2 separate regions of the Homo sapiens genome follow, and region 2 is linked to region 1. Evidence: promoter capture Hi-C in 16 types of primary human blood cells and fetal thymus (Javierre and others, 2016). All regions are on one chromosome and are shown on one strand. The core of a region is centred on a gene start or on the middle of the fragment in contact, and the rest is flanking DNA. Distances in the headings are between cores, read along the strand shown. Region 1 holds the start of TBX6 (T-box transcription factor 6). Region 2 holds the start of MAZ (MYC associated zinc finger protein).

The links. Contacts are between HindIII fragments. The CHiCAGO score rates a contact against its expected background, and 5 or more counts as called.
Region 2: the fragment with the promoter of MAZ here is called in contact with the fragment with the promoter of TBX6 in region 1 in 1 of 17 cell types (neutrophils); the score reaches 6.5 in neutrophils.

Annotation. Positions count from the first base shown.
Region 1 is chr16:30,089,724-30,094,425 of GRCh38, forward strand. It overlaps TBX6 (T-box transcription factor 6), which reads right to left and starts at 2,201. Exons shown (of 9, transcript NM_004608.4): 1 at 2,150-2,201; 2 at 1,353-1,518; 3 at 1,035-1,269. The coding sequence starts at 1,470. YPEL3 (yippee like 3) reads right to left here. Exons shown (of 4, transcript NM_031477.5): 4 at 2,591-3,076. The coding sequence ends at 2,987. RefSeq lists enhancers at 665-1,538, 2,671-2,860 and a silencer at 2,191-2,450. The HindIII fragment of the contact is 24,011 bases long and covers 1-4,702 here.
Region 2 is chr16:29,804,456-29,809,157 of GRCh38, forward strand. It overlaps MAZ (MYC associated zinc finger protein), which reads left to right and starts at 2,074. Exons shown (of 5, transcript NM_002383.4): 1 at 2,074-2,438; 2 at 2,523-3,373; 3 at 3,775-3,838; 4 at 4,115-4,286. The coding sequence starts at 2,247. KIF22 (kinesin family member 22) reads left to right here. Exons shown (of 14, transcript NM_007317.3): 12 at 359-571; 13 at 660-719; 14 at 808-929. The coding sequence ends at 855. It overlaps MVP-DT (MVP divergent transcript), which reads right to left. Exons shown (of 4, transcript NR_186424.1): 4 at 4,189-4,678. RefSeq lists silencers at 575-624, 1,365-1,704, 1,835-1,974, 2,875-3,544 and enhancers at 1,005-1,054, 3,625-3,864. The HindIII fragment of the contact is 3,714 bases long and covers 1-3,579 here.

The sequences.
Region 1 (4,702 bases), core at 951-3,450:
GTTTGAGACCAGCCTGGCCAATATGGTGAAACACCGTCTCTACTAAAACTACAAAAATTAGCCGGGTGTGGTGGTGTGTGCCTATAGTCCCAGCTACTCGGGAGGCTGAGGCAGGAGAATCGCTTGAATCCAGGAAGCAGAGGTTGCGGTGAGCTGACGAGATCGTGCCACTACACTCTAGCCTGGGCAACAGAGCGAGACTCCATCTCAAAAAAAAAAAAAAAAAAAAAAAGAAGCCAGAGGGCGGAATCTTAGAGCTGGAAGGTTTTCTTGTCTCATTTTACATTTGGGGAAACAGGACAGACGGGTTAAGTGATCTGTCACACAGCAGGTTAGGAACAGAGCCATGACTCCTACCCCTCAAAGCCTATTTGCAGAAGCAGGGGTGACTAACTTTCTTGCTAGGAGCTTCCTGTCCCCACCCTCCTCTCCTCCCCTGATCTCCAGCACCAGAATCTGCAGCTCTTAGATGAATTTGCTTTAGAAAAAATATACCCTGCCTGCAGTAGGGCCGAGGACTTTCCATGCTAGGGCTTGAGTTCCTGCCCCAGCTAAAGACCTCATCTAAGGTCAAACACTGACCGTGTCCCTGCCTCTAGGGTGACCCTGGACCTAGTCATATACTGACTCCTATTCGAGTTGCATACTGATCCCGAATCCTGGCCAGATTTCCCTGATGCTGGTCAATGGGCTGGCCCTTGACCCCCTGTCCTTGTCTGGATGCTGGTCTAAGCCACACACTAACCTATAACCCAGAGGGACTTCCTGACCCTGCCCCAGACTGACCCATGACCCTTGCCATAGATTGGTCCCTAAACTCAGCCACAGACTCCACAGACTGGCCCTTAACCCTTGTCACAGAGTGACTCCTGATTCCTGCCACAGAGTAACCCTTGCCCCAGGCCATAGTCAGATTCTAGGCCTAGGCAGAGCTCTAGCCCCTCGGGAACCACCCAGTCCTAGCCCCCTCCCCAGGGACTCTGCCTTTCCCAAGAGACCCCCACCAGAAACACGGACCCTGGCCAGCCCCTCACCTCCCAGCTTTGGTGATGATCATTTCTGTTCCCACAGAGCTGAACTCCTTCCATAGCTCCCGGTTCTCCAGGCTCAGGCTGACCCCCGGGAGGGAATGGAGGGCCTCTGGAGCTGATGGGGCCGGCTCAGTGCCCATGGCAGGGGGCAGAAGGGGCAGAGGTGGGTGCGCGGCCAGGGTGCGGGGAGCAGCCTCCATCCCGGAGAGGAAGCAATCCAGTTTAGGGGTGTCCAGTTCTGGAAGCCGGGGAAGAATGAGGAGCCAGCCGAGGGCCACAGCCCCCCTATTCTCCTACCCAGGAGCTGGTCCCAACGCTCACCGGGGTAGCGGTAGCCCTCCGCTAGGGCGGGTGGGAAGCTGGAGTCGGCCCCAGGTTGGGCGGGCCCCAGGCGGTAGCCGGCCCCCAGGGACGGGTACAATTCTCGTGGATGGTACATGTTGTAGTTCCGTCTGGCCTCAGGTCTCGCTGCTTAGGGCCCCCGGTGCTGCGAGATGCCCCCTTTATAGCTCACAGCTCAGCCCCTTCCAGATCCAGGATCACAGCCCCTCCCCTCTTTGGGGCCCTGGAGTTGGGCTGGGGTGGAGACCCCTGGGGCCTCGAAGGGGTCCGAGAGGGGGTCGGATACCTGGGTACGGTCCCCTCCTCCCCTCCCTCCCCACCCCGGGAGGCTTCATTAGCCTCGACCCCCTGCCCCCTCATTACATAATTAACTCCTCGGCTTGATTGATCCCCAGGGCTCGGACAGGGACGCAGTTTGGCGCTTCCGGCCAGCTGGTCCCCGTTCCCACGGTGGGGAGCCCCGGCTAGGGATAAGCTGGGGGGCGGGGCCTGGAACCTGGACGGAGCCAAGAGTCCCGGGACACACCTTGGCGCCCCAGACCTTCTGGCAGGTGACCGCCCTCCGCCCCCCTTCACTTGGAGGCCGGGCCCTGGAGGGAAGCAGCGTGAACAGAGGGAAAGTGCAGGCTAGAGGGACGCGGCCTGAGCTGATTTCACAGGGCACTCGGGGCCGCGAGGAGGCCGCAGCCCAGTCCCGAGCACCGTAGTCCTCCCTGGTCCCCATGCTAAAAAAACCTCCATCCCGAGCCAAGCCTCCAAAGTTCGAAGGCGCTCACAGTCCGACAGCTTCTGACGCCTCGCGCCAGGGTTTCCCGAAGGTCCCGCGCTGGGGAACCCTCGGAACTACACTTCCCGGCAGGCTCAGCGCTGAGGCGCGCCCGAAGGAGCCGGACGGACCACGCGGGGGCCGCTGGGAGTTGCAGTCCGACCGCGAGGGGGCTGCGAGGCCGGCGGCGCGGTTGCCTCCCTGGGACGCTGCCCCTAGGCGGCGGCCAAACGCTGCAGATGAGCAGACGCAGATCAGCCGAGGTCACGGCGTAGGCAGCCAGAGTGGGCTCAGGACCTCCGCCAGCAGTGAAACCGTCCCGGTTCCCGGAGACCCAGCTTGGACGGCTGTGCCTACCCCATGCCCCGCCGGGGCTCAGAACCGCACAGGTCTATAGGGGCGGAAATCTCCGCTTGAGCTCCCCCTTCCCGGATTACACGCGAGCCTGAGCTGTCTCCACTCCATTGTTTTATTATGTACAAACGCTACAGAACGAGGGGGACAGACACGCGTGGGGTAAGAAGGGCCTGGTGGGAGGAGTTCACAGAGCAGACGGTGCACTGGGACCAGGAGAGCAGAACACAGGCCATAACTATAGGGCAGGTGGGGCAGGAACGGGTTAAAAACGAGATCCAAGCCAGCCAGATCGCAGGAGGTGCGGGGGCGTCGTCCCCCTTCTGTTCTCCCCCCAAGGTCACAGTGCATGCAATAAAATATATATACAGGAGCTAGATCCGTCCTCTGCAGGGGCTCTGAGGGTCCAGAGCTCCCTTCGGGTGGCGGGAAGCCAGTGGCGCTCCCTGGCGGCCAGGCCGGGCTGGAGCCACATGCGTCGGGGGAGCGGGGGTCAGTCCCAGCCGTTGTCTTTGATCATGTGGTTGAGTTCAATGATGTACTTCCCCTCTTTGTACTTCTGGCTGCTCTCAAAGGCCTGTTCCTGAAAGGAGGGGCGGGACCGTCATCCCCGGAGCAACAGTCTCACCACAAGGCACTGGGGTTGGGAAGTGGACATGAGTGGCCCCATTTTACATATGAGGAAACTGTGGCCCAGAGGGGCAGGGCCGTATTTCTCACAAACACAGAGTAGAATAGAACTCCCTGACTCAAAGGTACTTTTTTAAGTACTAATGATGGCTCCAACAGAGAAGATAGGGAAGTGGCTAAAAGATTTCACAGTTCAGGGTTTGCAAACTGGTAGCTTCATGGCCATTTTGGCCTACAACATGTATTATGTTTGGACAGCAGACAGTTTAATAAAAATAACTTTAAAGTATTAAAATATAAGTAGGCCTTGCTCACTCCAGTTTGCCCAGCCTGCCCCCAACTCCCAACCCTGCCAATCTATGCTACCCTTTACACATCTACAGTATCTGCTTGGCCTTGCAGGCACTTGAGGTTTTTTTGTTTGTTTGGTTTTGAGAGGGAGTCTTGCTCTGTCGCCCAGGCTGGAAGTGCAACGGCGCGATATCGGCTCACTGCAACCTCCGCTTCCCGGGTTCAAGTGATTCTGCTGCCTTGGCCCCGAGTAGCTGGGATTACAGGCGCCCACCACCACGCCGAGCTAATTTTTGTATTTTTAGTAGAGATGGGGTTTCACCATGTTAGTCAGGCTGTTCTCGAACTCCTGACCTCAGGTGATCCACCTGCCTCAGACTCCCAAAAGTGCTGGGATTACAGGCGTGAGCCACCACACCCAGCCTGGCACTTGAGTTTTTGACCTCTTGTTTAGGCCAGCTCTTTATTAATTATTATTATTTTTGAAACGGAGTCTCGCTCTGTCTCCGCTCACTGCAAGGCTCTGCCTCCTGGGTTCACGCAATTCTCCTGCCTCAACCTCATGAGTAGCTGGGACTAGAGGCGCCCGCCACCACACCCAGCTGATTTTTTTTTTTTTTTTTTGTATTTTTGGTAGAGATGGGGTTTCACCGTGTTAGCCAGGATGGTCTCAATCTCCTGACCTTGTGATCCACCCGCCTCGGCCTCCCAAAGTGCTGGGATTACAGGTGTGAGCCACTGTGCCTGGCCGGCCAGCTCTTTATTTGGTAGAGGTCCAGAGTGGCCAAGCCACCTGTCCAGAGACACACAGCCAATCTGTGGCAGGGTCAGCAGCGAGCTCAGGTCAGGGCTGGCTGGCTGGCTCTGCCTGGGACATCCACCTCACAGAGGCACCACAGTTCCAAGCGACGCCTGAAGAATCCTGTCCCTTGCAGTGTCCCAAGAGCATCTTCCTGAGCATCTAATCTGATCCCTGTAACAATCCTGGGTGCTAGGCAGTGGCTTTATCTTCCACTGAGAGATAAGGAAATGAGACTCAGGGTAGTGAAATCAGACCCTGGACAGCAGCAGTGGCAATGAGGACTATGGAAAGGGAGGCTGGTGAACCCAAGCTCCATGTTGTTGCAGAGTCTGGGGCAATTTTTCTGATACTCTAAATGACAATATAAGCTGGTGACCAAGGGTTTGGAGTGAAAAAAAAAAACCAACCAACCAACTCAGATTCTGGTCCCTATTCTGTTACTTACCAGTTGGGTGATCTTGGGCAAGTTACCTAACATCTCTGGGC
Region 2 (4,702 bases), core at 824-3,323, 290 kb before region 1:
TATTACTTTCTCCCATGTACTTTTTGAAAGACAGCTTATTCTTTCCCTTTTAGAGATGAGGGACCAGATTTAAGAGCTTATTTTGTGCTTTACATTCATTAACTCACTTGATCTCCACAGCAACTCCATGAGAAGGGTGCTAATATTACCACTGGGTACTGAGTAGTACCTCTCTTTCACTAGTTGCATAATAAGAATTAACCCAGAGAGTGACCTGAGGGCGGGATTTTGGACACACTTGACAAGAGAGGAAGAGGCTGGAGCGCAGGAGGTAGCTGGTGCTGGGCTCCTAGTCTTGGCAGAGGAGCCCAAAGCACTTGGCTGCCCTGCGTGTCACTCATCTCCCTTTGCCTCCCAGCTGGAGTCCCTGGATGCCCTAGAGCCTGAGGAGAAGGCTGAGGACTGCTGGGAGCTACAGATCAGCCCGGAGCTACTGGCTCATGGGCGCCAAAAAATACTGGATCTGCTGAACGAAGGCTCAGCCCGAGATCTCCGCAGTCTTCAGCGCATTGGCCCGAAGAAGGCCCAGCTAATCGTGGGCTGGCGGGAGCTCCACGGCCCCTTCAGCCAGGTAGCAGCCCACTGGACTGGGGGAGGGCGGGGGCGGGGGAGACCGGGTACCCCCGAGACCCTGTCCCCTATCGATCCTGTCCCGCCAGGTGGAGGACCTGGAACGCGTGGAGGGCATAACGGGGAAACAGATGGAGTCCTTCCTGAAGGTGAAGTCACGGCCCTGCCCCTCCTCTGCCTGTCCTGCGCCCCGCGCCCCTCTCTAACGTCGCTGTCTCCCTCCCTCCTGTGTTGCAGGCAAACATCCTGGGTCTCGCCGCCGGCCAGCGCTGTGGCGCCTCCTGACCGTCGTCTCCTCACTCCGCCTTTTCAAATTTTTGTATAACCCCGTGTTGTGTAAATACAGTTTTTGCTCCGGTGCTTCCGCCTGATTTTTGGGGCTGCGGGGGCGGGACCGGGGTGTGACCGCCTCGGGGTGGGCCGCGAGCAAGGCAGGCGACTCCACTGGGCGCCATCTTCGGGGAACGACTCAGCGCAGGATTGTAAATACACCGCTGGGGTGGGGCGGGGAGGACGGTGGCCTGCAGGACGCAAAAAGCGGAAGCCGAAGCATGAGGCCTGCGACCGTTAGGCGGGCGCGCGCTCAGGGATTAGCCCCGCCCCGTCCGTGCCCCCGGCGCGCGCGCTCCCCCATTCTCCCGCTCGGCAACGACGGCGGCCTTGTGCGCGTGCGCGCGAAATAACGGCCGCTGGCGGAGGGAGGGGGAGTGGAATCGTTGGCGGGGGGAAGAGGAGAGAAGCCGCCCTGTCTCCCGCGCGCCCACCACCTGCGCCATCGTCAGCCAATCAGCAGCCGTCTCAGGGGTCTCGCGCTCGGGGCGACTCGGGCTGCTGGGTGGCTCCCCCGTCCCTCCTCCCGCCAGAGTCCCTCTCGCGCCTGCCCCTCCCGCTGGCCACGCGCGCGCTCGCGCTAGCGCTCGCGCCCGCTCCAGCCTCTTGTGTGTCCTCGCGCCCCCCGCCCGCCCTCCCCGCGCGTAGTGTGCTCCGCTTCCCCCACCCTCCACCTCCCCCCTCCTGCCCGCCCCGCGCGCCTCCTCCCGGGTTCCCCCTCCCCCACCGCCGCCGCCTCCTCCTCCCGCCCCAGGGTGAGCGCGAGCCACCTCCCTCCCTCCCTCCGCCATGGATCCCAGCAACTGGAGCAGCTTCATCTTCCAGGTAACAACTCCCTCCCCCCGCCCCCACCCCCCTGCCCACACCCCCTCCTGCCCGCCCTCCCTCCCGTCCCACCCCCCCTCCGCGCGCCCGGTGCGCGCGCAGCTGTCCCCCTCCCTCCCTCGCGCCCTCCCCCGCCCTCCCCGAGGCGCCGGCTGGGCGCGCGCGCGGCGGGGGCCGAGGCTGCTCCCTCGCTCCCCCCACCCCGCCCCGCCAGGCTCCAACCGCCGCCGCCGCCGCCGCCGCCGCCCGGGCCCCCGCCCCCGGCCCCGGCCCCGCGGGGCCTCCCGCCCCCACCCAGGGGGCGTCGCCGCCGCCGTCGCCGCGGCGCTCCGCGGCCCGCAAGGCGCCCTCTTTTCCTCCCTCCCGCCGGCCGGGGTGCGCGGGCGGCGGGGCGGCCCGCGGGCCATGCGTTCGGCGCGGCCCAGCCCGGCCGGCCGGGGGCGGCGCCCCGAGCCCGGGCCCCGCGCGGCCCGCGCCCCCGGCCCCCGCTGAGCCCCGGGGGCCCCGCTGCGGCCGAGGCCATGTTCCCGGTGTTTCCTTGCACGCTGCTGGCCCCCCCCTTCCCCGTGCTGGGCCTGGACTCCCGGGGGGTGGGCGGCCTCATGAACTCCTTCCCGCCACCTCAGGGTCACGCCCAGAACCCCCTGCAGGTCGGGGCTGAGCTCCAGTCCCGCTTCTTTGCCTCCCAGGGCTGCGCCCAGAGTCCATTCCAGGTGAGTAGGGCCGGCCGCGGCGGCCCGGGCTGGGGGGGGACGCCCGCCCGCACCCGCGGCCCACTCGGCGCCTTGTCTCCGCAGGCCGCGCCGGCGCCCCCGCCCACGCCCCAGGCCCCGGCGGCCGAGCCCCTCCAGGTGGACTTGCTCCCGGTGCTCGCCGCCGCCCAGGAGTCCGCCGCGGCTGCTGCGGCCGCTGCCGCCGCTGCTGCCGCCGTCGCTGCCGCGCCCCCGGCCCCTGCCGCCGCCTCTACGGTGGACACAGCGGCCCTGAAGCAGCCTCCGGCGCCCCCTCCGCCACCCCCGCCAGTGTCGGCGCCCGCGGCCGAGGCCGCGCCCCCCGCCTCCGCCGCCACTATCGCCGCGGCGGCGGCCACCGCCGTCGTAGCCCCAACCTCGACGGTCGCCGTGGCCCCGGTCGCGTCTGCCTTGGAGAAGAAGACAAAGAGCAAGGGGCCCTACATCTGCGCTCTGTGCGCCAAGGAGTTCAAGAACGGCTACAATCTCCGGAGGCACGAAGCCATCCACACGGGAGCCAAGGCCGGCCGGGTCCCCTCGGGTGCTATGAAGATGCCGACCATGGTGCCCCTGAGCCTCCTGAGCGTGCCCCAGCTGAGCGGAGCCGGCGGGGGAGGGGGAGAGGCGGGTGCCGGCGGCGGCGCTGCCGCAGTGGCCGCCGGTGGCGTGGTGACCACGACCGCCTCGGGGAAGCGCATCCGGAAGAACCATGCCTGCGAGATGTGTGGCAAGGCCTTCCGCGACGTCTACCACCTGAACCGACACAAGCTGTCGCACTCGGACGAGAAGCCCTACCAGTGCCCGGTGTGCCAGCAGCGCTTCAAGCGCAAGGACCGCATGAGCTACCACGTGCGCTCACATGACGGCGCTGTGCACAAGCCCTACAACTGCTCCCACTGTGGCAAGAGCTTCTCCCGGTGTGCACGGGGCCTCGGCCGCCCGCTAGGCCGTGGGGAGGGAGGGACGCGACGGAGGTGGCCTGGCCGTGGCTGGCGGGGAGGGAGGCGGCTGCTGAGGCTGGGGAAGGGGAGCCACTCCCAGGGCGGAGGGAGGAAGCCTCTCCCGGTTACCAGGGAGCAAGGGGTGGTCCTTTGTCGAGGAGGTGGGCCTTGGGGTTGACGGAAGCTTCGCGTGGGAGGAGGCGGCGGCGGCGGCAGCGGCTGCTGGGCTCCAGGGGAGGGATTTCCTGCTTAAGTGTCGCTGTGACGGCCTGGGCTCCGGGAGGAGGCGCAGGGATCCTCGGAAAGGCCTGTGGTGCGGTTTGGTGGATTTGGGGCGCACCACCTCCGCCCTAACCCCAACCCCAACGTGTCCCCAGGCCGGATCACCTCAACAGTCACGTCAGACAAGTGCACTCAACAGAACGGCCCTTCAAATGTGAGGTAGGAAGCCCGCCTCCTCCTGTCTTGGTTTTCATGATTTTGATCCTCATGGTAGCTGTCTGAGTCAGTCTCTCAGACCCCCTTTTTCTCTCTCTTCTTTTTGCCTTTTTGCTCCATTTTCTCATCCCTTCTTCAAGGCCTCATCATGTCACTCCCATTTCCTACAGATCAAAGATCCCCAAGGCTCTGATTCCTTTAATCTCTTGCTCCCCCCTCCCCAGCCCACCAAGCTTTAACTCTCCTGTGACACCCCCCACGCCCCTCCCCCCTCCTCAGAAATGTGAGGCAGCTTTCGCCACGAAGGATCGGCTGCGGGCGCACACAGTACGACACGAGGAGAAAGTGCCATGTCACGTGTGTGGCAAGATGCTGAGCTCGGCTTATATTTCGGACCACATGAAGGTGCACAGCCAGGGTCCTCACCATGTCTGTGAGCTCTGCAACAAAGGTACATGCCGAGGGCTGCCGGGAGGGCCAGGGGCAGAGGGTGGGCGCCTGGCCAGACGCCTTGCCACGGATACGGGTTAAGGGTGCTGTAGCCAAGAGCTCGTGGCGTCTAGATTCCTACAAGAGGTCAAGGGAGCAGCGGGGGGACACCTGAATGAACATCATTAGACTCTAAGAAGTCCTGGTTGGAAGAGATGATCTGCCAGAGAGGTTGAACCTCCTGGTAATGTGTGGGGAAAGCGGGAGTGGAACTTGGCTGCTCTGGGGAAGGAGTAGTCAAGAAAGCCAGTTCCAGGGGTCACAAGGCAAGGTTTCCGCTGCGCAGCCACAAGGTCTTGTCTCCAGCTCCTGGGGCAGGTGGAGTACACGGGCCGGGCTTTACCAGCACGCACCCTGCACGGGTAGCAGAGAAAGCTG